Linked DNA regions of Homo sapiens: all the other regions are linked to region 7. Evidence: promoter capture Hi-C in 16 types of primary human blood cells and fetal thymus (Javierre and others, 2016). All regions are on one chromosome and are shown on one strand. Each heading gives the region's core, a stretch centred on a gene start or on the middle of the fragment in contact. The rest is flanking DNA. Distances are from core to core; before and after follow the strand shown.

Region 1 (3,929 bases), core at 325-2,824, 1.1 Mb after region 7:
AGGGCTGTTACATTGTAATAAAAGTGTCAAACAACCGAGAAGACAACAATCCTAAATGTGTATGCAGAAAATAACACAGCTGCCAAAATACATGAAGGAAAAACTGTCATAACTAAAAGGAAAAAGACAAATCTACAATTACAGTTGCAGACTTCAGCACGCCTCCCTCTCTTACTGATAGGTAGAACAACTAGACAGAAATAGCAAAGAGGTAGAACTCAGCAACACCATCAACCAACAGATCTAATGAACATTGCTAAAGTGCTTCACCCAACAGCAGCAGAATACACATCCTTTTCAAGTATCCATTAAATATATACGAGGATAGACCATATGCTCTGGACCATAAGACCTCAAAAAATTTAAAATCATGGAATGTGTGATTTTTTTCAACAACAGTGGAATCAGATTAGCAGACAGGAATATCACAAAACACTTGGGAAATAACACTTCTAAATGATCCATGGGTCAAAGAGGAAGTCTCAAGGGAAATTTTAAAAATATTTTGAACTTAATGAAAAGTAAAACATAACGAATTTTTTTGAGGCACAACTAAAGCAATACCGAGAGGGAAACTCACAGTATTAAATGCTTATACTAAAAGACAGGAAAAGGGCCAAATCAGAAATCTAAGCTTCCACCTAACCTGAAAAAAGAAGAGCAAAAGAAACCCAAAGCAAGCGGAAGGAAGGACATAATAAAGAAAAGCCGAGAAATCAGTAACATTGAACATGAGAAAACAGTAGAGGAAGTCAACAAAACAAAGGGCTGGCTCTTTGAAAAGACAATAAAATTGACAAATAGCAAGACTGACAGAGAAAAAGGGAAGGCAAAAATTTCCAGTATCAGGAATGAAAAGGATATAACTATAGATCTTGCAGATATCAAAGGGATCACAACAAACAACTCTGCACATATAAATTTGACAACTTAGATAAAACGAACCAATTCTTTGAAAAGAACTCAATAGGAATTAGATAATTTGAATAGTCCTGTAACTGTTAAGGTAATTACATTTATAATTTAAAACCTCTTGAAAGGAAATCTCCAAATCTTGATTGTTTCACTGGATACTTGTATCAAACATTCGAAGAACAGTGAACACCAGGTCTGTACAATTTCTTTTCAAAAAAAAAGAAAGGAAGAGGAGGAAACCCATAGTCCTGTGACACTATTCTTACCTGATATTAAACCAAGACAGTTCTTAAAAAAAACAGTATCCCTTATATGTGTAGTTGGTAAAATTCTTTCCAAAATATTAGCAAATGGAATTAAGCAATTTATAAAAAGAATTATATATTGTGACTAGGATTGATTTCCGGGATTCAAGACTGGTCAGTATTTTAAAAATCAATGAGTATAATCTTCCATATTAACGAGCCAAAAAAGAAAATTCATATGATCATATCGATTTAGAAAAGGTGCTTAATAAAATTCAAAATTCACTTATAATAACTCAGATTACTAGGAATAGAGGGAAATTTCCTCAACTTGATTAAAAAACGTATCTAAAATATCTATAGCTAACATCATACTTCATTGTGAGAGACTGCTTTCTTCCTAGGGAATGGCACGCTTGTCTAGGCAAGGATGTCTGCTCCTACCACTCCTTTTCAGCATAGTCCTAGAAGTCCTAGCCAACACAGTAAGGTAAGAAGAGGAAATGAAAAGCACTACTAAAGGAAGAAATAAAATTGTCTGTATTTTTAGGTGATATGATTATCTATGTAGAAAATCCCTTGTACAAAAAAAAAAAAAAAAAAACAACACCTGAACTAATACGTGAGTTTAGCAAGGTAGCAGGATAAAAATAACATAAAAAATAAATTGTATTTCAAGATACTAACAATGAACATGTAGAAAGTGAAGTTTAAAATACAATACCATTTATAATTTTGCAAAAAGAAAAAAGATGGAAATCCAACAAAAAATGTACTGGACCTATGTGTTCAAAACTACAAAACTTTGAAAAGATTATGTTAAATAAGCTAGGACCAGAAAGACAGATATTACATGTTCTCATTTACATGTGGGAACTAAAAATAAAGCTGATCTCATGAAGGTAGAGAGTAGAATGGTAGTTACCAGAGGCTGGGAACAGTGTGTTTGAGAGAGGCGGGGATAAAGACAGGTTGGTTAATAGGTACAAACATACAGTTAGATAGAATCAGTAAGTTCTAGTGTTTGAGAGCAGATTAGAGTGACTATAGTTAACAATATATTGTGTATTTCAAAATAGCTAGAATAGAAGATTTTAAATGTTCCCAATACAAAGAAATGGTAAATGTTCAAGGTGATGGATATCCTAAATAGCTTGACTTGATTCTATGCATGTATCAAGTATCACATGTACTTCATAAATATTTACAGTATTATGTGTCAAAAAAACTTTGAAAAGAATAAATGGAGAAACATACTGTACTTATTAATTGGAAGATTCAATATAGTAAAGATAATTACATAGTCTTAATGCAGTTCCTGTCAAAGTCCAGCAAGATTTTTTGAGGACATATACAAGCTTATTCCAAAATGTATATGGAAGCCTAAGAAACTAGAATAGCTAAGAGTTTTCAAAAATAAAAATAAAGTGGAAGTTACCAGTCTACATGATTTGGAATGGAATACTACTTAGCCAAAAAGACTTATTATATGGCTATAGTAATCAAGACTATGTGATATTGGTAGAGGGGTAGGCAAATAGATCCGTGGAGTAGAATAGAAAACCCAGAAATAGATCCACACAAATATGCCTAATTATTGACTGAGACACAAAAGCAAGTCAATGGAGGAAAAATGGTGTTTCCAACAAATGGTGATGGAACAACTGGACATCCATATCACAAAAATGAACCTTGACTTAAATGACTTTATACAAAAATTAACTCAAAATGGGTCATAAACTTAAATGTAAAATGTAAGACTATGTAACTTTTAGAAAAAACATAGGAGAAAGTCTTCCAGATCTGGGCTAAGCAAAGAGTTTTTAGATTTGCTACCAAAAGTACAGTCTACAAAAGGGACAATTAGCAAACATTAAAATTAAAAATATTTACTCTCTGAAAGCCCATATGATAAAGAGAATCTCCAGACATATTTGCAAGCTGTCTATCTGACAAAGGACTCATATCTAGAATATATAAAGTACTCTCAAGACATCAGTTTAGAAAAATTCATCTAGACAATTGGCAAAAGACATAACATTTCATTAAAGAGGATATACAAATGTCAAATACAGAAAAGATACTCAACATTGCTGGCTATTAGGGAAATGCAAATTCAAACCATAATGAATATATTATTCTTTACCTGCCAGATGGCTACAAATAATGACAGCATGGAAATCTGGTGACTATGTGGAGAAACTGTATCACACATACACTGCTGGTGGGAATGTGAAATGTTATGGGTAGTTTCTTATAAAATGACACGTGCAGTTACCATAAACTCTAGCAATTGAACTATTGGTCATTTATCCCAGAAAAATTGAAATTTATGTTTACATGAAAACCTGTGCACAAATATTTATTCCATCTTTGTTTTTAATATTCAAAACTGGAATCAGCCCATATCTGCTTCAGTAAGTGAATGGTTTAACAAACTGTGGTTCATACAAACCATGAAATAGTACTTAGCAATAAAAAGGAACAAACTATTAATAAACACAAAAACTTGAAAGAATATCCAGGGAATTATTCCGAGTGAAAAAAGCCAATCTCAAAAGGTTATTACATACTTTATGATTCCATTTATGTAATACTTTTGATATGACAACCTTTTAGAACTGTGGGACAGATTAACCATTACCAGGTCTTACGGATTTGGTGGGAGCAGGGAGAGGAGAAGCAGGTGGTTGTGGCTATAAGAGGGTGGCACAAGTTATCCTTGCATAGGAACTGTTCAGTCTTTTGACGGGTGTTGAATATATGAAC
Region 2 (3,463 bases), core at 549-3,048, 1.0 Mb after region 7:
CTGGTCAAAAATAATTGGAGAACACTGCCCCCAAAATTAACAGCTAAACAACTTTCTGTGGTAGTCCAGAAGCTTACACTTCAAAATGCTTATTGTAGTTACTTTCTGGAAAATGAGTTTGTGTGTTGAAAACAGTTTTAAGATTCAAATTCCACTTATTACATGTAGACTTAAATAATACTGAATTTTCCCAAACTACTATAAAACATTTTATAAAGACAAAATTTATTTCTAATAGATTTCTCTACTAATAACCAAAAAATGTGTAAGTTCTCAGCATGACATTTGTAATTCTCTTCTCCAGGATTCCCGCGTTGCTTTTGCCTGCCAGGAATGTCTTCACACTTGTGTGTCTATTGGGACGATCAGCACTCAGTTTAGTCTTGGCCATTACATGAAGCATACGACCCATACTGGGCCAATCATAGGTAAAGGGGACCTTTTTTTCTCTCTCTCAAACATTTGACCAATCATCTTGAGGTTCAATTGTCATGTTCACATATAATCCATTTCTCTACACTCAGGTTTATATGTGCACATCTATTATTCTATCTTTCCATCATGCTTGTTTGTTTTAGTCATAGCTAGGGCTTCTGTGTGTGATTGTTCAAGCTGTGCAATGCACGCAGATGCCTGGCTAAGGGTGAGTGAAGGTTCAAGTCTAGCCCAAGCTGTGCTCAAACAGCTGTGAGTTCTGGAGTGCCTTCCCCAATTTTCATGTTGGCTAGCGCTGTTCTAACTAAATTGTGAGCTTCCTGAGAGTAGAGAACATTCTTAGTCGTCTGTTTGACATAGTTCCTGGCAACACGCCTTGTCAGAAGACTCTTAATAAATATCTGTTGAATTGAATTTCAGAGTACATTTTCCGACATAAATTCTGACATGCTCCATCATTTTTAATCTCCTTTATTCAATTATGCAGGCAATAAGTCACCAAACTGACTTTATGCTCTCTTAAGCATCTATCACAATGTCAAACACCTTAGAGATATTTAATGGAGATTAATGTATTATGATAAATGACTATTGCTCATTTTCTGTTCTTTCCATCACATTTTCTGATCTATTTTTATGGTCTACCTTCTAAATTTTATTTATTATATTTTATCTTCCAAAGAATCTTGTATGATTGTAGTGCTCACACACATAATAAATTTTGAAGTTTTTGTGGTTAAATCAACTGAGACTTTGAGTCTGGCTAGGAATTTATGATTCCTCATAAGCAACAGGGCCATGTATACGACAAGAATCCAATCTAAGTGTTGATTATGGGCAACAATGGTGATGATAATTAGGTTTAAAAGCCTATGCTCTGCCAACACATTAGAAAATTAGATAACATTTCTGAAATATTTTTAAACAAAAGATGACCTAATTATCTGTACCTGTAGAAAATTTTATCAACAGTTAGCATCTAAGTATCATTTTCAATTTTTTCTACCAGAGGACTCATGTAAAAAGATAAGATGATACTCCTTTACTTGCATGTTTTGGTCCATGAAAGACTTTGACAAGTTTAGGTGGCATTATGCAAAAACACTACCTGCTCTATCAGATGAAGACAGAGGAAGAAGAAAGGGATAGCAACTGCTAATTACCTTCTTAAAGAAAATGTTCAGCCGGGCGCAGTGGCTCATGCCTGTAATCCCAGCACTTTGGGAGGCCAAGGCGGGTGGATCACCTGAGGTTGGGAGTTCAAGACTAGTCTGACCAACATGGAGAAACCCCGTCTCTACCAAAAATACAAAATTAGCTGGGTGTGGTGGCGCATGCCTGTAATCCCAGCTACTAGGGAGGCTGAGGCAGGAGAATCGCCTGAACCCGGGAGGCGGAGGTTGCAGTGAGCTGAGATCACGCCATTGCCCTCCAGCCTGGACAACAAGAGCAAAACTCTGTCTCAAAAAAAAAAAGAAAGAAAGAAAATGTTCACTTTTAGGGAAGGAGATTGTTAGTCTTCCAGAAAAGAAACTACAAGAATTAAACAATTAGATCTCTTAAAAAATGATGAGGAAGTGGGATCATTTAGTCTAGTGAAAATCACCAAACAATTAGATGAGTAGAAACATTTAAAATTTAAAGAATCAAGCTACAGAGCCCATTGGCTAAAATTTTTAAAGAAAGATCTAGAGATTTCAGATCGTCCAACTCTGCTAAAGAGTGAAAATGATTAGCCATTACTTTCTTCCACTGTAGGTAGATTGCAGTTACCACATAACGAACCAGAAGGTTTAAAGATTGTATCTGTAGAAGCAACTGAGGCTTCACCTATGATGAAAGACTTTGGAGTCAGACTGCTTAGGTTTAAATCCCAGTTCCATTATTTATCTATTTGCCTTATGACTTTGGAAGTTACTTAACTTCTCTATTCCTGTTTCCTTGTCTGTAAAATTAGGATAATAATTGTTCCCAAATCATAAAGTTGTTATGGGGAGTAATAAGATAGAGTGTGTAAAATACTCCATACAGAGCCTGGACCATAGTTAAGAGTAAGTACTCTACAAAAACTTGTGTTTGTCATTAGAGATACAATAAAAAGTTATGAACCAAAGTGGCCAGTAAAAAAAATGAAAGTTTTTATATACTGAGCATCTATAATGTGTCAGTCATTATGTTAACCAGTTTTCATACATTATTTCTTTTAATTTGTTGTCTTCGAATTATTTTAAAAGAATTAAAAGAACACAGTATGATTTAATGTGAAAACGAAAAAGAGAAGATTCCAGCTGGGCACGGTGACTCACGCCTGTAATCCCAGCACTTTGGGAGGCCTAGGCAGTTGAATCACGTGAGGTCAGGAGTTCGAGACCAGCCTGGCCAACATGGTGAAACCCCGTCTCTACTAAAAATACAAAACTTAGCCAGGCGTGGTGGCATGTGCCTGTAATCCCAGTTACTCAGGAGGCTGCGGCAGGAGAATCACTTAAACCTGGGAGGTGGAGGTTGCAGTTAGCCGAGATCACACCACTGCACTCTGGCCTGGGTGACAGAGTGAGACTCTGGCTGAAAAAAAAAAAACAAAAAAAAGAAAAAAAAAAAAGAAAGAAAAAGAGAAGATTCTAACTAACTCTTTACTTCCACCGACATTGAGAACTTCCATTCCAGTGACTTAGAGATAATTACTACAAACTTTTCTGAGGAGAGGAGGAAGGGGGAGGAGCATATTCTTCTAGAGATTTCTATGCTTATACTGGTGTACATATTTATAACACCATCTTTCAGTACACAAATGCCATACATACAATCCTGCAAGTTTCTTTTTCTTATTTGTTATATCTTGATCTTCTATCTCACCTTTTTTAAATAAACTTTTCATTTTTGCATAATTTTGGATTTACAGTAGAGTTGCATATTAACATTTTACATAATCAAGGTGTGTCCGGAGTTGGTTCCTTCTGGTGAATTCTTGGTCTCGCTGACTTCACAAATGAAGCCATGGACCTTCACGGTGACTGTTACAGCTTTT
Region 3 (3,399 bases), core at 35-2,534, 1.3 Mb after region 7:
CGGCAGCAGCAGCATTTGATCTGGATCCTGATGGGTAGTTGCAGTGCAGATGGATAAGTTGGGAGTAAGAAGAGAGCATCTCTAGTGGGTGTTGAGGCCAAGAGAAATGGGGAATTGCCTGCTTTGAAGGTGGGCAGCGGGAAATGAGGCTAGGCAGGTGAGTTTAGGACAGATGCAAAGAGGCTTTAATGAGAGAGAGATTGAGTTGGAGTGTGTTTAACTTCAGAACAGGGATGGGAGGATGAAGGCCCAGGGTCTCACAGGGAACTCTTGTAAATCTCAGGAAGATAGGCAAGAAAGGGTCTAGCTCCAGGACATTTCAGTCTAGGCATCTCTAGCCTCCAGCCTCCTGGAGCCATTCTTTCACCATTGCTCTATGGGGACATTTTCTTCTTAGGCATTTTACATGTCTGCTCATTCATTCATTCAGCAGGTATTTATGAGCTCTTACTCTGTGGCAGGCACTGCTCTCAGTGCTGGGTTGCAGCAGGGAAAAAAACAAAACAAGATAACATCCCTTGCCACATTCCCAGAAGGGGAGAGGGACAATAAACAAGTGAGCTAAATGCGTGGGAGGCCAGGTGATGAGAGGTATGGTGGAGAAAATCAAAGCAGGGAAGGAGATGGTGTGTGCTGCATGGAGAGGGGAGCAGCTCGGGGAGGGCTGTAATTTTAAACAGAGTGGTTAGAGAAGGTTTCACTGACTCACCCTGTCACTGGGACTTTGGGAGCACAGGGAAGGAGGCAAGGCCAGATCCTACTGGGATCTTGAGCCCACAGTTGATCCTCTTCGACCTGTTGGGGGTCTTTGACTAGGCAGTAGGGAGTCTTTGAGTGCTCTTGAGCAGAGGAGTGACATGTGTGGGGAGATCTCCCTAGTGGCTTTGTAGGGGATAGGATATTGGCGGCTGAGACAGGGGAGCAGAGATTCAGGAGGAGATGACCACTGTAGACTAAAAAAGTCTACTCATTTGACACTTTCCTCACTGTGCTGCAAGCTCCACATCTGTAAATGGAGATAAAATGGTACTTACCATTTCAGGCACGTTTTCAAGAGGATGAAGTGGGTTACTGAATGTAGAATACTTAGACTAGCACCTGACATATAATAAGTGCCTAAAAATATTGTCTTGCTCTACTATCTGTCCCTCTGTCTGCATATACGTATGTGTGTGTAAAATTAATGTGTTAGGGACATCCTTTCTTGTCCTGAAGCCAAGTCAAATGAAGAAAATAATGGCGCTTTTCAGGATTAAATGAGATCATCCATGTTGTGGGTGTAGGTTAGTGGCAGATGAAAACCAGGTGAATACTAGTTAAAAGTACTACTGTTACCACCAGATCTTACCTTGAAGAAAATGATTTTGCAATGGAAATCCTTTGTAAAGTCTTCCTATTTAACAGTTGTTTATCAAGACTGCAACATGCCAGGTGCTGCACTAGACACATCCCATTTCATCTTTGCAATAACTGCCCAAGATAATAAGTGTTAACCACATCTTACAGATGAGGAAGCAGAAGCCCTGGACTAAGACTTGACAAGGTCACATAGCTGGTAAATGGCAGAGCTGGGATTAATCCATGAGTGTTCCATTGTGTAAATGTAAACATTGACATATAGGTTCTCATATCAGTCTCCCTTGGTATTAGGTACCCACAAAGAGGTGCAGGGAGAGCAGAGGCATGGCCAATTTCCAGGACAGATCGGGGCAGTGTGAATGTAGTGGGGAAAGCATGGGTGGGAGACACTGTGGGTGAAACAGTACCTTTCTTCAATGACTCAGCCCTGCAGGCTTTATCAGAGCCTTTCAGCCACCCTCTCAGAGTCTATCTGAAACCCATTTTGGTTTCCCAAAAGGAGCAGAGCCTGACAAGTTCAAATCCTGGCTCCAGCACTTACCAGCCATGTAAGTCCAAGATAGAAGTCAATTTCTTTGTGCCTCAGTTTTGTCATCTGCAAACTTGCTTCATAGGGTTGTTATGAGAATATCAGAGAAGCTATGTCAACACTTAGAACAGTGCCTGGCCCATAGCAAGCACTCTGAAAGAGTTATTATTATGTTAACAATTCTTATATTATTTTTATATTATAGTATTATTGTAAGTGCCTTCTTAATCTCTGAGGTCAGGGTAGAATGTCCATCCTCTCTGCAGGATCATTCTGTAACACATTCTGTTTTGCCTTATTATATAGATGTGGGTGTAGGTCTCCCCTTTACAAGACCATGAATAGAATTCAATCAGCATCTTTCTAAAATCCCTGAAGACTTGTGCCTTGTCCTAGAAGCTGTCAATAGAGACTTGGGCCAAAAGAAGTGATTCTTGGTTTTCTTTTACCCTTCAAGCCACATATTCTGACCTGAAGACCCCACCTCTCAGGATTTGGAAAATGTCTGATATTTCCAAAGGTGCTTTACAGTTTGCCAAACACATTCCCATTCATATTTCATTTGGTCTTCACAGTTACCCTGTGCGGTTACTGGGTACTGTCCCCATTGAACAGGTCAGGAGACTGAGGCTCTGCAGGGTTGAATAACTTGCTCCAAAACGTGCAAGTGGAAGGTAATGAAACACGCACCCCCCTTCCTATCCCAGAAAGCTTTGTTCTGGAGTTTCAGATTGACTCTTCCCCTAAAGCCATTCATCATTTCCCCCTTAGCCCTTTTCCTAAAGAGGACTGGGAGGAGGTCATGTGGTGACCAGCCGACCTTTATACAATTCTACTCTGTTTCTTCTTCTTCTTCTTTTTTTTTTTTTTTTTTTGGTGGTCCTCAATTACGTGGACAGTTTTTCATTTGTTTTTCTCTTAATTTTATGATTCATTTATTTATATGAGACAGGGTCTCACTCTGTCACCCAGGCTGGAGAGCAGTGGTGGGATCATAGCTCACTGCAGCCTCAACCTCCTGGGCCCAGATGATCCTCCCAGTTCTGCCTCTGGAGTAGCTGGGACTTCAGGTGCACGCCACCATGCCTGGCTAATTTTTTCTTTTGTTTTTAGTTGAGACAGGGTCTCCCTGTGTTGCCCAGGCTGGTCTCAAACTCCTGGACTCTAAGTTATCCTTCCATCTTGGCCTCCCAAAGTGCTGGGATTACAGGCGTGAGCCACTGCGCCCAGGCTATACAATTCTACTTTCACCCTTTGTTCCCAGGTCTTGTTACTCCCGAACTAAGCACATGGTGATGGCTTTGAGCAGAGCTGATTATTGGAGTTGCTCAAATCATCCCCACTCCATTGTCCCTTCTCTGTGGATCTGAGGTCTGGGCTGGGACTCAGCATTTGGAACTTGGTGGGGAGTGGGAGACAATGGGGGAGAGCATTGTAGCTTGAAGCATTTGCAGTGCCTGAGTATGAAATTGTCCTGAGCATAAATGTGCCATGAGGGACCCTGCAACTGA
Region 4 (3,742 bases), core at 836-3,335, 1.1 Mb after region 7:
CTGTTTCTGTCTTCCTACCTGTTCTTTTTTTGTGATAGAGTTACTGGTTTGCAGAGTCTCTAGTATCTCAAACTGTCTTAGGAGTTGTGAAGTACATGGGCTTCTGAAAGAAAAGATTGTCTTAAATATAAAAATAAGTCATTATAAATGACCTCTTTTTTTTAAACAAGTTGCCTCTTTTCTTGATTTTCTTCCACAAATACTTAAGTTTGCCTAAAATAATCTTTAGTTCCAAACTTTAAAGAATTGTTTGCAGAACAGGAAGCTAAAGAAATAATATTAATTTATTGTAGATATAGTATAATTCAGGATTCATTCTTAATATGAGAGAACAAATCAGTAGATCATGATATCACAGATAATGCATAAATACATTAGAAGATGTTCCAAATAATTATATTCCTCAGCTCTTTTGTAAAGGAAATAGAATTTGAATAAGAAACAGTATGTTACTTCGGATTTTTTTTATCGACTGTGTATTTTAGAACAGCACTGTAATTAGCATCTGCTTCTGAAATTTTAGACTATTATTTAATTTTTACATATGTAAGTTTATATTTACAGATATATATGGTTTCAAAGGTTATAGCATAATTAAAATGTGGAAGAGTGCACTGATGAAACTTGTGTAACTTCTGGTATATACAGTTGTTTGATAACTTGCCATTTTTGTTTTACCTTAGGGGAAAGTTGACCTGTAATATATAGGACAACTTACCATGTTACTTCTCTGTGTGTTAACAGAGAATAGGAAATACACAAATAAGGGTTGTGTTTTCCTTCTCCTCTGAGTTACTTTTATTTTTTCCCCTTAGAATTCCTTGATCTATGAACTTTTCTCTGTTATGGTTCATTCTGGGAGCGCTGCTGGTGGTCATTATTATGCATGTATAAAGTCATTCAGTGATGAGCAGTGGTACAGCTTCAATGATCAACATGTCAGCAGGGTAAGGAGGTGTCCTTTAAGATTATTACTCTGAAAGGTGGGAGTAAGGATGTTTCTAAACAACAGTAAAGTTTATTAAGAATGAGTGAATCTGTCTAGTGATACATCTTAAGACCCATATCAAATCTGTCTTTAATTTTTGCTTTTAGTAAAGTTCTTGCCTTTGTTTATTATTTCTTTGTTTTGCTTTGTTTTGTTTGGGGCTTGCTGAATATCTCCAGAGATAGACTACCAATTTTCCTCTGGGCCTGAACCTTCATAGGTGCTACTTGTGCTTCACGTGTGATTAGGAATACTAGAACTGGCTGGCTGGTAAGCAGCCACTGATTATGATTAAATTTTGTGAATTGGTAGCTGTGTGAGCAATCATGAAGGTCTTTGATAGCATTTAACTCTGAGGCTAAAGATTGAGTTACATATTGACGTTAATGTGATAGTGTTATAGAATTTGCAAAAAAAATCATGTAACACATTTTCAGATAACACAAGAGGACATTAAGAAAACACATGGTGGATCTTCAGGAAGCAGAGGATATTATTCTAGTGCTTTCGCAAGGTAAGCAATTTCCTAATTTTCAGTGTTTAAAAGTTAGAATTAATTATAGCTTCTCAGTGTTTTTTTATCATCAAAGATTTAACCAAGGGATTGAGGAACTACAACCCATGAGCCAAATCCAACCTGCCTCCATATTTTGGAAATAAAGTTTGAACACTGACATAGCCATTTGTTTCTATATTATGTGTTAATGCTTTTACACTATAATAACATAGTTGAGTAGTTGCAGCACAGACCATATGGCCTGCAAAGCCTGTGATTTTTACTATTTGGTCCTTGCTGGAAACAACTTGCTGGCCCCTGACTTAACTGTTGTATGTAGACATTCCAATACACAGTTTTGTTAAAGACTTTACTGTATTACCAAGAGGAGATACGGAATCTTCTCTAAATGTGATAAGAGGAAACAGATTTTCCTCTTATCTGGAATGTTTTAAATCTCAGTGTGTCTGTGAACAGTGACATGATTTTCTAATTGTTTTTTAAAAAATCACAATTTAAATATTTCATGCTTAGAAGTGGAATCTTTTTAATCTACTTTTTGTCCTTATTAATCTTTTTTATGTTTCTACTAGTTCCACAAATGCATATATGCTGATCTATAGACTGAAGGATCCAGCCAGAAATGCAAGTATGTTTACCTACAGTTATTTGATTTTAATTTGTGTTATAAACTAATTTCTTTTGTAAGTTTGCAAACCCAGATAACTACTTTTAAATGATAGGATAATTAAGTTGTTTTATGCCTGGAAGAATTATTTACAAAGACTGTTACAAAATAATACCAAATGTTAAGGACCTTGAAAAAATGTTGTTGAATTATTTTTTAATATATGAAGAGACAAAACTACATTAAATAAATTGAATGTTTATTAGTAGTAAGATTATATTATGTGCAGTCTGATGTAGGGACGATAACATTTTTGGAATTATTGCTTTTAAAATATTGCAGTGTTTGTTTTTTCTTGCTAATTCTGACTCAGGCTGTATTACAAATATCTAGGGGGGTGTGTACAGATACATATACAGGTGATGTGTTTGCTCATAGTCTTTTCATAATTAAAAAAAATATAATCACAATCTTTGATTTCAGTATATTTCCTTTGTTTAGACACTACCGTTGCTATTAGTAAATCTGTTTCAAGCATTATGTTTTTATTCACATTTTTGTAAACCCTCATTAGATGGTGAATTCAATTGGTACAAGGCTTAGGACTTACTCATCTTTTCACATAAAGTATATTCTAGGATCTGTCATATAGTAATGTTCAATAATTTACTATGGAATTATTGAAAAAATAAATGGAAATTATAGTAAGTCATTTCAGAACAGAGATTTAAGAGCAGAAGTAATCATTTGTACTGTATTATAAAGAAACTACCCCAAAGAGTAAGCTGACCCAGGTCATAGCTATCTGGAAGCAGAGCCAGTATTGTAATTCATGTCCCTCACGTGGACCCAACCTTCCAATAGTGCAATAACTCAGCCTTCTTTTACTCCCCCAACTCTAGTTTTGTTATAAAGCACCAGAGGGCGCTGTATGACATGACATGGAATATTTTTTAAATTAGAGTTCTTTCCTAGAAACAACAGCTTTTACCTTTTACGGACACATGCTGTTTTTGATAAAATTTTTTTCCCCTTTTTAATGCCAAATAATCATTGGCTTTATTAAATGGTGTCATAATTTCATATTGTCCCTTTGAATGCTTTGAGTTACATATGAAGTTGTAATTATTAAGAAAAACTTTCGTAAAAATGATTATATGTGAGTCTATAGTAATGATTTTTTGCATATACTTTATTCTTTTAACTAATTGTTTAAAAGTAGCCTCACAAATTATATCAGGCTGTCCTCGCATTGCTATAAAGAAATACCCAAAACTGAGTAATTTATAAAGAAAGATTTAATTGTCTCACAGTTCTGCAGGCTTTGCAGGAAGCATGATGCTAGCATCTGCCCAGCTTCTGATGAAGCCTCAGGGAGCTTTCAGTCATGTCAGAAGGCAATATGGGAGCAGGCATTTCACATGGCAAAAGCAGGAGCAAGCAAGTTCCGGGGTTGGGGGAGGGGTGCCACACACTTTTAAATGACCAGAACTCATGAGAACTCAGTATGGCAAAGAAAGCACCAAGCCATGAGGCTTGACCCAGACATCTCCCACCAGGCCCCACCTCCAGTATTGGGGATTCCAATTCAACATGAGATTTGGGCGAGGACAGATGTCCAAACTATATC
Region 5 (3,771 bases), core at 1,247-3,746, 1.1 Mb after region 7:
AAGAACCAGGAACTGCTAATGTCTGACCATATGATGTTGCCACATCACCATTCTTATGTATGATTACTATTACAGCACTTTTGATTTCTAAATTCTTAGCGTTGTCTTCCTTTGACCATCAACTCCAGCTTATTTGAAGCTTTAAAATCTGGCTACTACAGTATTTTATACCAGGAACGCTGAATCATTCAGACTTGATCTATCCCTGAAGTATACTATTGAATCTATAAAAGTGTACGTTTTGTAGTTGAAATTTATTTTGAGTCATTTACTCTTTCATCATAAACCAGCATTTTTAAAAAGATCTATTTTATGTTTTTTAGTTTAGGGTTAAAATGTGTAAAATAATCTATTAAATGTGTTAATATAACATCTAAAATATATAGGTGAAGGTTTTTTTATCTTTTTTGAAATGTATGTTAATAATGTTCTTTTGTTTCTTTTATTTCACAGAAATGTATTTTCTTTTTATTTTTTAAGTAAGTTTTTAGTAATTAAATATTTGGATGTGTCTGAATTGTAGTGCTACCCAATTTATTTTAAATATTATACTTTTATAGCAACTTACTTTTGTTCTAAACTAATTGGAGTAACTTTAATTTAAATGATCTCTTGCAAACCCAAAATTGTGTGTCACAGAAACAAATGATAATTGTATTACTTCAACAAACAAAAAACTTTGTGGCTATCCCATCTTCAGTACTAGCCAATTATAATTATTCTTATTTAAAAATGGATAATATAGAAGCAACAAAAGGTTGAAGCTGATAGTGTTATAAAAACTAAGGAAGAAATAAATTTTTGTGTACACCACCAGTTTGTAGAGATCATATTTCTGAATAGCCCATTATGGAGATGGTGAGACATCTCTCAGTTTAATGCCACACCTGACTGTCAGGGAAAGCAAGAGATTTACATCATCAGATTTGTATATCAGAAATACTATTCGGGGTTGAAGGAATATAAGATTGGAAGAAGTTAAACTTCTTAGGAAGCTGTTCCATAATTTTGTTGTAGGATATTCTTATTGCTGCAGGCAAGAATAAAGTGAAGGAGGTAGTTCAAGAGATATTCAAAAGGTAGAATTGATAGGTTTTGGAGACTATGTGAGGTAAAGAGGGAAGGACAAGGAAGATGCTCATTTCAGCTGTTTGGTTTCAGCAGCCAGGCAGATGATGGTGCCATTCATTGAGATGGCCATTATAGAAGGAGGGAAAGGAATTTCTTCCAATAAAGTATCTTTGATGTAGTCTTTTACCCCTGTGGAAAGTGGAAAAGTGGTGTCCTTTAACAGCTTGAGGGAGGGCATAGCTTATTTGAGAAAGTTTAAGCAGGAAGGATAATTTGTGACCCTAATTCCTTTCTGTATTGGTAATTGAAACTGTTTCCTTGTTTTTCCTTCCCCCTCCTCCTGGCTCATCTGTTTGGATAAGCTTGTCAGCCCCTGACACGTTAATAAATGGAGCTTTTTGGACATCTGGACTTATGAGTACAGCAGCATAAAGATCAGGAGATGTGGTAGCCTGTATCCCTTAGTTATAGATTTTTTAATCTTTAGACAATCCTTACTGCATTTTTGCACAATTCCCATTTTTTTTTAGGAGACCCAGAAATATTTGATTTGACTGTGGCTAGCATGGTAATGACACATTTTTTAAGGATCAGATTTTATAATTTTTAACTTAAAATTGCTTAAATATTACTATCTTCATGGCTTATTGACCATGGATTTACAGTCTTAAAGGTGAAAGCAAATATCTCCAAAAATGATTGTTGATTCTGAAATGTGCCTTGATTCTTCCAAAACAAACATATACGGTGCTTATATGTTTGACATATCCATTAGAATGCGTTTCAGACTACGATAAAACAGAGAAAATAGCACAGAGAAAATACTTAGTATTTCCTGAGGTCTTTTACATTTAATCATAAAATTTTATAGCTAATTATACTTTTGTTTTGCTTTAAAGATAATATATAAAGTCATATTTTTCTTAAAATTTCAGATAGAAAATGCTGCTGAAGAACCTAGAGTCTTATGTATTATACAAGATACTACTAATTCAAAGACAGTGAATGAACGGATCACTTTAAATTTACCAGCATCTACTCCAGTCAGAAAGCTCTTTGAAGATGTGGCCAACAAAGTAGGCTACATAAATGGAACCTTTGACTTGGTGTGGGGAAATGGAATCAATACTGCTGATATGGTAAAATCCTAGACTTAAGCTTCTAAAAATGTTATTATAGCCATTGTTGTTGTTGTTACTGATGATAATGTTAAATCCTGGAACTCTTAAAATCATAAACAAAAGTATAACAACTACAGTAAGAGCCTATGTGCAGCTCAGTAATTGGATCCTTCTTCTTCCTTTGCCTCCATTCTGGATTTAACATTTGCTCGTCCTAAAGTTTACATAATGTCATTTCATCAGTTTTTTCATTCATGAAAGGTGACTCTCATAATATTGTCTCAACTAAAGAAAAATTTCTATATTTACTGAACAGAATGATGATCATCTTATATTATTCCGTGAAAAAAGATTGTAAAATCATATTTTATGATCTGATTTTTGGAAAAGAAGAAAAATATTCATAGTAAGAAAAATGGAAGCATATATGCCTCATACATTACAGTGTTAACCAAGATTATCTCTAGCTGACTATTTCTTTTTATTTGTGTGTCTATGTGCATTTCTGGGCAACTTTTTTGTATGTTTATTTTTCTTTGTATGAACATGTGTAGCTTTTGACTTTTAACTCTTAAGCTTAAAAACATTTTTAACGACTGCAGTCTTGTCAGATCTCTTTGAGGGTATACTTTCTAATTTTAGTCGTCTGTTAACTGTTTCCTTAATTATTTATCCCTTATCCATTATATTTAGTTTCTCTCTTTCATGGTGTAGCATTTCTTTAAATATTTAGTGATTTTTATTTTCTGCTCATCTTTATATTTGAGAATCTCTGTTCACTTCTCTGTGAATGCTGATTAAACTTACCATATTCAGTTCTTGCTTGTTGTGGAAAAAGGGTGAGACGTGCTGCTAGGTGTGATGTGTTTATACTTGTTCTGGGATTGGCTGGCTTCTGACTCTTTAGGGTTAGGAGCTGATCAGTACCTTGTTAGACAGCACTGTGCTACCTCTCCGGTCACAGTGCCCACTCTTTACCCTGACAGGAAATAAGCACTGCTGTCTGCTACGTAGTCCAAGGAGAAAAAGAGAGGAGATACCAAACTGATCAGAATGCCTTTTCCTACTTCCTCACTTTTAGCTGTTTCCTGGCCTCTATGTCTTGACCTTAGTCTGAAGTTCCTTACTACCTTTATCTCCACAGTAGTCTTCTCTTATAGGATCTTTGGGCTGTGGTTCCCCTTAGTTTTATTTTTCCATAGATCTGATCCTGTCTGTTTTCTATTTTTTAATTTCTCAAAATTTTTGGTTTGCTAAGCATGCTCTTTTTTGACATTTTATGGACTTTAGGGGAGGATTATTGGTAGACATCTTCTTAGGTCATCATTTGACCTAATCTTGTATTAATGTTTACTACCAAAATAAACAATTGCAATTATTAAAAAAATTTCTAGGAATCCTTGATAGACATCTGTCCTTGGACCATTTTTATAAGGACACTGATTCCATTCATGAGGGCTCCATCCTTGAGACCTAATCAGCTCCTAAGGCCCCAACGCTTAATATCATTGCATTGGGGATTAGGTTTCAGCATGTGAATTTTGGGGAGACATAAACACTCAGAACATAGCAGAGGTAC
Region 6 (3,621 bases), core at 167-2,666, 1.2 Mb after region 7:
GGGTCAGCTTGGCACCCCAAAGCGTACCACAGCACCTGATTCTGAGGAGGCTCTCAGTAGATATCTGTTGAGTAACCAGAATGTAGGGTGGTCCTGATGGTTTCTGACATTGAATAGAAAACAGCTCCCTATTTGATCTTAAAATAATCACTATAACCTGGACATACTGTACTAGATGCTGTTTTTGTCTGACTTCTACTCTGTCAATCTCTTTGCACCTCCATTTGTTCATCTGTGAAATGAAGAAAATGCTCATGGAGTTCAGTGAAGATTAAATGAATGAATATAGGTAGACTGCCTAATCTGGCACTTGCCACGCAGCTGACTTCAATATAGTAGCTCTAATATTATGGTCCTTGAGGATCTTACTGTCTTATGGCCCAGAACTGCATTTGATTAAAGAAGGCTCCCCTAAAAAAAGAGTCATACATATTCCATTTGTCCTTTCAGAAGGCCGTGAAGCATTTACACTCTTTAAGACAAATTCCCATCCAAAAATAGTTAAGATTTCTAAAATATTTTGATGCTGAAAGAGGTGTGCTTCAGTTGGGTGGCAAATTTGCTTCTATGGAAGATTTTTAATACAGGTTGTTTCTATTTTACTTTTTCTGGCTGAAAGGATTTTACATTTATTCAAAGTCAAAAGGGAAAAGAAATCCAAGAACTACAGAAGAGCAGTTGAAGTGATTTATGCTTGATTTCTAAATGCAACTTATGTTTATACATAATTTAAAACTCAAAGAAAGCATGCTTATACAATCATGTGCAACTTTAAACTTTAAGAACTCTGGATGAATACATGGTGGCAACAGTCCATGACACCTGAAAACATCATTTGTGGAGTGGCGTAGAGTTCAGTGTTCGCAGTCGCATATTACAACCATGTTTCACACAGCCCTGCTCGGTTTGATTTTCTCCACGTGGTTGATAATTGTCTTCAGTTGCTGCTAAGTGATTTTGCAAATTTCATTTATAATCCTCGCCCTACAATTACCTAAGTACTGTTTCTGCAGGTTAACCTGTATGCTACGCTCAGTCATATACCTTTCAAAGTTACTAATGCAACTGCCAAAGAGGGACAGTGTCAATATCATTGTCTTCATTAGAAGGACGGCTGCCCCACACTGTGAGAACACTGCTGTTCCTAACAGTAGTTTACTTTTAGAGGGATGTGAGAATTAGTTTGACCTTAATTCCAGATGTGCATGCCTCAAAAGAAAAATCCCATTCTCCTTCCTTTTGGGGAGCACTTTTGGTGGCACCAAGGCTGGTGTGGGGTAGTGGAGAGAGCACTGAGCTTAGAGTCACAACCAGATGAAACTGCTCTGGTCTTCACTAGCTGTGTGACTTGGGCAAGCAGCTTGCAGTCTCTGAGCCTCTGAGATCCCTGATGGACGAGGAGAACAATGACCCCCTCCCCAGGCTGTGCTGAGAGAGGGAATTGATCTTGGATATGAAAATGCTGCCCTGGCACAGAGGTAGGAGCTGAGCAACACTGCTGGATGAATAAACACATGTAATGCAGGGTGAACAGAACATTTCATCTGCAACAGCTGAAGGCACAGCTTACCTATGCCCATGGAAAGAACTGCGTGGAAAATTCATTTGTTGCATTTTTGCCAGGTTGATGTTTGCAAAGCAGGGCACTCTTCTCCACATTTCCCCAAAACCAATCAGAGGGAGACTCCACATTGTTTCCATCTCCTCCCCTCAAACAATTATCAAAGCCATGTAGAACAAACGGCTGTCTGCCAACTGGTAGAGGCAAAGCAGCCAATAATCTGGACAGGGGTGGCAAACTGCTCCTGCAGTTTAACCCTGCCTGACTCTCCCAAGCACCAGACTGTGAAGCCTGGAGAACAGCCTGGGGGAGCTGAACAAATGCACAACACCTCATGCTGTCAAGCCAGAGGGGAAACTTACTGGGAAGAAGATGTAGGAAGAAGCCTGGTCAGCCCACGCCTAAAGCACACACCTGGGGAAATAAATTAGCTATTTCTATTGCACATCTACCCACAGCCTGGTCCAGATCTAAATCTCTTCCCCTCCCAGCAGTGCAGCGGCGGCAGCCGCAGGCTCCCTCAGCGCCATCTCTTCAGTCAGGCTCCTCTCCAGGTCCTCCAGCTCCTGGCGCACCTCCTCCATGAAGCTGCCAACTTCATACTCATCGGGGACCTCTCTGGGCAGCAGGATCTCCCCATCTTGGTCACGGCTCCCCACGAAGGTCGGCTTGCACACATACACCAGGCTGTGGCTGGGGAGAGATGGGACAAAGCCAGGCTCTAAACGTGGGAGCCTGCCCAGGCCGAAAGCTAAGGCGCCCTGACTCTGTGGGGCTCCCAGCCTCACCTTCATGCCCCCTCCTCTCCTGTCTCTTCAACAGAGACACTTCACTTCCCGTCAACATCTATCTTAAAATGATGGCTGAGGGAGGCTCACTTTGGGAGAATGTGCTGGTGGGGGGCAGCTTCCCCTCCTCCAGCGCAGGCCTGACCTCCTGTGACTCTCAGGCCCCGCAGCCCAGGGGCAGGACCTGAGTGCTATGTAGCAGCACCACAGCCCCTCAAAGACTGTGGCCCATTCGGGCCTCCAGGCAGGAGTCAGCCTGACTCTGGGGTGTAGTCTAGCCACATGCAGGGAGCCATGGACCTCTGTGGGAATAGGGAGGAAGAATTCCTTTTTTTAAAAAAAATTAATGTGTTTGGTAGAGACGGGATCTCCCTATGTTGCCCAGGCTGGTCTTGAACTCTTGGCCTCAAGCAATCCTCCTGCATTGGCCTCCCAAAGCTCTGGGATTACAGGTGTGAGCCACTGCACAGAGCCGTGGGGAATGGGAGTTCTGCCTGTCTGCCCAGCAGCCCTGGATTCTGTTGGGAGAGAAGACTGAGTAGAGGCTGCGGGGAGGACAGGGAGATGTGCCCTGAGAAGCTGGCCAGGCTTGAGCCTCATGCCTCATGGAGTCTCAGCAGCCTCAGACAGTGTGGGCTGCACCCTCCACCTTGGTGGCCACTCCTGGCCTCCCCGTGGCCTCTCTGCCAGCTCCTTTTTCTCTGCTTATCTGTCATTGTGACAGGTCTGGGGAGGGAGCCCAGGCTTTTCTCCCTCCATGTCCTCTCCATGGACCATCCACTCATGAAGCTTCAGCCACCAGCTAGATGAGCCCCAGATCTGTGCCTCCTGGGCAGCCTGGGCTCCAGACCCCTAGAACCGACTGCTGATTGGACCCTTCCATCTGCATGACCCAACGACCTCTCAAACCAATCCTAAAGGGAATCTACACCTCCCCCAGGGAAAACCTGCTCCTGCTCCTACGCCCCTGCTGGATGGCACCTCCTCAGCCCTTGGCTCCCTGAGAGTGAGGGTTAGGGGGCCTCACCTGTGGGGCTGGCAGAGGAGGCCACTGGCACAAGGGCATCGGTCCAAGGCTCCATCAGGCTCTAGCTCCCAGGTGATGAGGTCCAGAAGCCGGCTGGCGGGGTCATGGCAAAGCTCGCCCTCCACGGGCAGGGGTGTGCACACAGGGAACAGCAGGCCTGGAACCAGCCCAGAGTCACCCCTGTGTGCCCCGTGTAGGGTAGAAGGGCTCCAAAGGGAGGGGCAAAGAAATGGAGCATAACCTCC
Region 7 (3,395 bases), core at 38-2,537:
CACATTCTACTATCTTTAAAACTGAGCACTGAGATCAATAGAAAAGTCTAACTACAGACACGAGCAACATCACGTGGAAAATGTCTGCCCTAGGAATTTTTACTGCCTTGACGAGGCCAGCGACTAGATGAGGTCTCTCCGAAAGCTCTTCAGCAGTTTTCCCCTGTCCACCCTTTCGCCTCCTCCCCGTGGAGAGCTCGTGGAAAGACGCGCGAGAGGGGGCCGGGTGTACAGGACTAGCACTTGCAGGCGGAAGACCAGGGCCACAACATGGCAGCAGGAACCTCCGCCCCGTTTTTCCCTTCCTGGGAACAAAAGAGCGGAGCATTCCTCCCACCCAGGCGCAAGTTAGGGAAGTGCTTCCGACAACCTCCCCGCGAGGCCCGGGTCGCTCGACGGGGAGGAGCAGCTGAGGCCACCCCCGCCAGCCCGGCGCCCAGCTCTTTGTTCTCCAAGCAGGAAGGCGGCCTCCTGCCCACCCGCCGCCTCCAAGCGGGCCCCCTCCTGCACCATAAATCCCCCCGGGACTGACAACCGCCTCGCCACGGCCTCCTCTGCTGACAAAAGGGGCAGAAATCATCACTCTCTCTTTCCTCCCCGACGAAGGGCAGCCCCTGCCGACTCCAGGTCCTACACACCTCCCCGCCGGGAGGCCAGGCTCCGGGACGCCTGCGGTTCCCTGGTCCCGCGCCAACGGCCTGGCCTTCCCTGCCGGCCCGCGTGCCTCCCGCCACGGCGCTAGCGGTCCGAGCCACGCTCCCTCGCCGTCCGAGCACAGCCGTGCCTCGGTCCGCCACGGCCTCGTCCCTGCAGGCGTCGGCCATCCGGCCATGACCGCACGGCGGCCTGGCCAACACTGACGTTTTCCTTCTACTCCGTCAGCAACAGGAAGAGAGAACAAAAGCCAAGACTTTCCAGGTATCTGAAGCGCAGAGGAAATGCTAAAAAAGGGTCGCCCCACCCGGCTCCGCCTGCGGCCGCCATTTTGTACCACTCGAGAAGAAGCGACCAGGGACGGCGGCCATTTTAGAGCGCTCCACTCGGCGGCGGCAGCGGCTCAACTCACCTTCACCGAGAACTCAGCAGCTGCCACCGCAGCTGCCTCCTCAGGATCCGGTCGTCGGGGATAGGGAAGGGAGGGGAAAGGGGAACGGAAAACAAAAAAAAGGGGGAGGGAAGGGGGAGGAAGGAGTCGGGGACGGCCTCAAACTCAGCTCAGAGGAGTCGCTGCTGCAGCCGCCACTCGGTACCCGCTGCCACCTCCATAGAGCTCCGACTCACTGCTGGCGCTAAGGCGTGTCTGAAGCCGAACTTATCACTCTTGGGGCAGCCGAACCCACCAGAGTCTCCCCGAATGGCTCCTTCGCCGCCCAATCAGCGGCCCGGTTGCCGTCTGCCACCAATCCGCGCAGGGCAGCGAGGAGGAGCCACAGGGCTGAGCTCGGTTGCGGCGCAGCCCCGCCGCAGTGCGCAAAGCCATATTCGCGAAGTCTCTGAGGCTGAGCCAGTGGCGTAAGGGGCGCCGAGCGCTGTCGAGATGAGGGTTGCGTGCGTAAAGCCGGAGAGCCCTTTTGAGTCTGCGTTGGCGTGGCTGCTGCTTCTTGCTCCAGTCCCTTTGTTCACTGAGTCCATATGCCATGCTCCAGTTGTATCATCCCCTTTTCCCTCGACCTCGTTTTCTCACCGGGAATATGGGAAGAAAACGCACCCTTACCTCCCCCGAACCCTGTGCGTGGCGAGTGAGCATTGCTTTTCTTGGCGCCCCTTGGAGCTGTGGCTGCCCTCGCGTGCCTGGCCTCTCCCGGGGCTGAGCCCTTCGGGTTGAGGCCTGGAGCCCCCGGGCGCAGCGCCGGGACACTACCCGGCTCCAGGTCCTCGGCTTCGGCAGCCTTAGGGAACCCAGAAAGTAGTGGGGAGGAGGCGAGACGTGCGCCCGGATGCCAAAGGGGAGCTTCATTCAGCTCCTTATTGGCCCACCCCCTGCAGAGTGAATGAGAAAGTGATGAAAGGAAGGGGTTGATTTTCTTCGAACCGCACAGAAGAAGCTGCTTTTCCCATAGGAATGTCCGGCTGGCGGTCACCGAGGAAAACACCCTGTGTGTCAGACTTCCGCGGGTGTTTGGAGGATTTCGAATTGCTAGCTCCTGTTTTTTTTTGTTTTTTGTTTGTTTAAGTGCACGTTAAACATTGTCAGTTGTGTATTTTCATTTTATTTAAGGTTCACCATAAGAAATAGGATTAAGCTTTTCAAAGCCGGCAAGTTGAACTATTTATACTTACCAGGTAATGTATTGATGAGTACCTTATTCCATCGTTTGCGACATTGTAGCTATACTAAAATGGAGTCATACTTCCATAAACTTAAACAACAAAAATGTCCCCATCTCCATTTTAACATGTAGTACTTTTACAGTGTATAGTCAAAGGCAAGAATGTGTGTGTTTTAACATGAATGACTTTTAAAGTGTTCAGTAAGAGGCAGGATTTTCAAAGACCCAAACTTAACCTTTGATGTGTCAAAACAGCTCTTGGTATTAGAGCACCTGGTCCTTAATACAATTTTCCGGAAAATTGCAGTTTTTCCTACGACATTTAAATGTAATAGAAGGCTGTGGTGTGGCTCTGAAGGTTTTTAACACAATTCCAACATCTGTAGATCTTTGCTATAGAATAGTCACCATTCCCTACTTTACTGTTACTACACTTATTGCTATTACATCAATTTTACTTGAACTTTAAAACTTGGAAGAGATATTCTAAAAAAAAAAAAAAACTATTTTGGGGTGGTGGTGGTGGTGCAAGTTTTGTTTTAAATACAAGAGGTTTCACTTTGTATTTCTTTGGACCCTTCTAGCTTCATGATAACACGAGAATAATGTTTCTTTATAATTTCTGTAGGGCTTTAAGGTTTGGAAAAATGCATTAGTATATGTGATATTTTTACATAACTGGTTTACATTCCATTTATCTGATAATGAACGAATACATTAGTTTACTAAGAAGAGTAGTATTCAAAAACTATTGTCTAGACTTCAAAGAGAATATTCACCTAGCCGTAAAAGTCGGATGTTCTTATAATTAAGACACTTAAAATTCAGTAATTAAAAATTTAAAAAAGGTTTTACTTAATATTTTATTTAATCTTTGCTAATTGGGAACCCTTTTGGTATGGGCTTTGCAGATATGAGTTTATGTGAGAAATTGACCTGGAAGGGAATAACCTAAGGTAGAAAAAGTAAAAATATTGATAAAACAATCTTTCAATTACCTTTCTCTCACTTAAATAGAAAGATTTGAAGTTGAAATCGTACCTGCAAAGCCCATTGCAGAAGGGTTCACAATTAGCAAAGATTAAATAAAAACATTAAGTAAAACCTTTAGAAAAAAAAATTTTT

What was found. The method cuts DNA at HindIII sites, captures the fragments that hold promoters and counts their contacts. A CHiCAGO score of 5 or more calls a contact.
Region 1: a contact is called between a fragment that was not itself captured here and the fragment with the promoter of EIF4G2 in region 7, in 1 of 17 cell types (total CD4 T cells). The highest score is 5.3, in total CD4 T cells.
Region 2: a fragment that was not itself captured here is called in contact with the fragment with the promoter of EIF4G2 in region 7 in 2 of 17 cell types (total CD4 T cells and non-activated CD4 T cells); the score reaches 5.8 in total CD4 T cells.
Region 3: a fragment that was not itself captured here is called in contact with the fragment with the promoter of EIF4G2 in region 7 in 1 of 17 cell types (M0 macrophages); the score reaches 5.1 in M0 macrophages.
Region 4: a fragment that was not itself captured here is called in contact with the fragment with the promoter of EIF4G2 in region 7 in 1 of 17 cell types (naive CD8 T cells); the score reaches 5.5 in naive CD8 T cells.
Region 5: a contact is called between a fragment that was not itself captured here and the fragment with the promoter of EIF4G2 in region 7, in 2 of 17 cell types (naive CD8 T cells and naive CD4 T cells). The highest score is 6.9, in naive CD8 T cells.
Region 6: a fragment that was not itself captured here is called in contact with the fragment with the promoter of EIF4G2 in region 7 in 1 of 17 cell types (non-activated CD4 T cells); the score reaches 5.3 in non-activated CD4 T cells.

Annotation. Positions count from the first base shown.
Region 1 is chr11:11,911,514-11,915,442 of GRCh38, forward strand. All of the region lies in intron 8 of USP47 (ubiquitin specific peptidase 47), which reads left to right. Among named protein-coding and RNA genes, the nearest start is that of USP47, 72 kb to the left of the region's middle. The HindIII fragment of the contact is 1,884 bases long and covers 633-2,516 here.
Region 2 is chr11:11,827,952-11,831,414 of GRCh38, forward strand. The region is part of intron 2 of LOC107984311 (a long non-coding RNA gene); the gene reads right to left. Among named protein-coding and RNA genes, the nearest start is that of USP47, 12 kb to the right of the region's middle. The HindIII fragment of the contact is 3,456 bases long and covers 71-3,463 here.
Region 3 is chr11:12,126,893-12,130,291 of GRCh38, forward strand. All of the region lies in intron 1 of MICAL2 (microtubule associated monooxygenase, calponin and LIM domain containing 2), which reads left to right. Among named protein-coding and RNA genes, the nearest start is that of MICAL2, 18 kb to the left of the region's middle. The HindIII fragment of the contact is 2,625 bases long and covers 1-2,597 here.
Region 4 is chr11:11,928,619-11,932,360 of GRCh38, forward strand. USP47 (ubiquitin specific peptidase 47) reads left to right here. Exons shown (of 28, transcript NM_001282659.2): 12 at 816-947; 13 at 1,426-1,502; 14 at 2,078-2,133. Among named protein-coding and RNA genes, the nearest start is that of DKK3, 78 kb to the right of the region's middle. The HindIII fragment of the contact is 4,291 bases long and covers 1-3,742 here.
Region 5 is chr11:11,878,171-11,881,941 of GRCh38, forward strand. USP47 (ubiquitin specific peptidase 47) reads left to right here. Exons shown (of 28, transcript NM_001282659.2): 2 at 2,007-2,210. Among named protein-coding and RNA genes, the nearest start is that of USP47, 38 kb to the left of the region's middle. The HindIII fragment of the contact is 539 bases long and covers 2,228-2,766 here.
Region 6 is chr11:11,962,433-11,966,053 of GRCh38, forward strand. It overlaps DKK3 (dickkopf Wnt signaling pathway inhibitor 3), which reads right to left. Exons shown (of 7, transcript NM_001018057.2): 6 at 3,377-3,533; 7 at 604-2,254. The coding sequence ends at 2,032. Among named protein-coding and RNA genes, the nearest start is that of DKK3, 44 kb to the right of the region's middle. The HindIII fragment of the contact is 3,439 bases long and covers 1-3,136 here.
Region 7 is chr11:10,807,639-10,811,033 of GRCh38, forward strand. EIF4G2 (eukaryotic translation initiation factor 4 gamma 2) reads right to left here and starts at 1,288. Exons shown (of 22, transcript NM_001418.4): 1 at 1,067-1,288. LOC101928053 (a long non-coding RNA gene) reads left to right here and starts at 1,659. Exons shown (of 3, transcript NR_120540.1): 1 at 1,659-1,728; 2 at 2,219-2,283. RefSeq lists enhancers at 61-140, 871-1,130, 1,641-1,690, 1,766-2,372 and a silencer at 1,411-1,460. The HindIII fragment of the contact is 4,879 bases long and covers 1-2,241 here.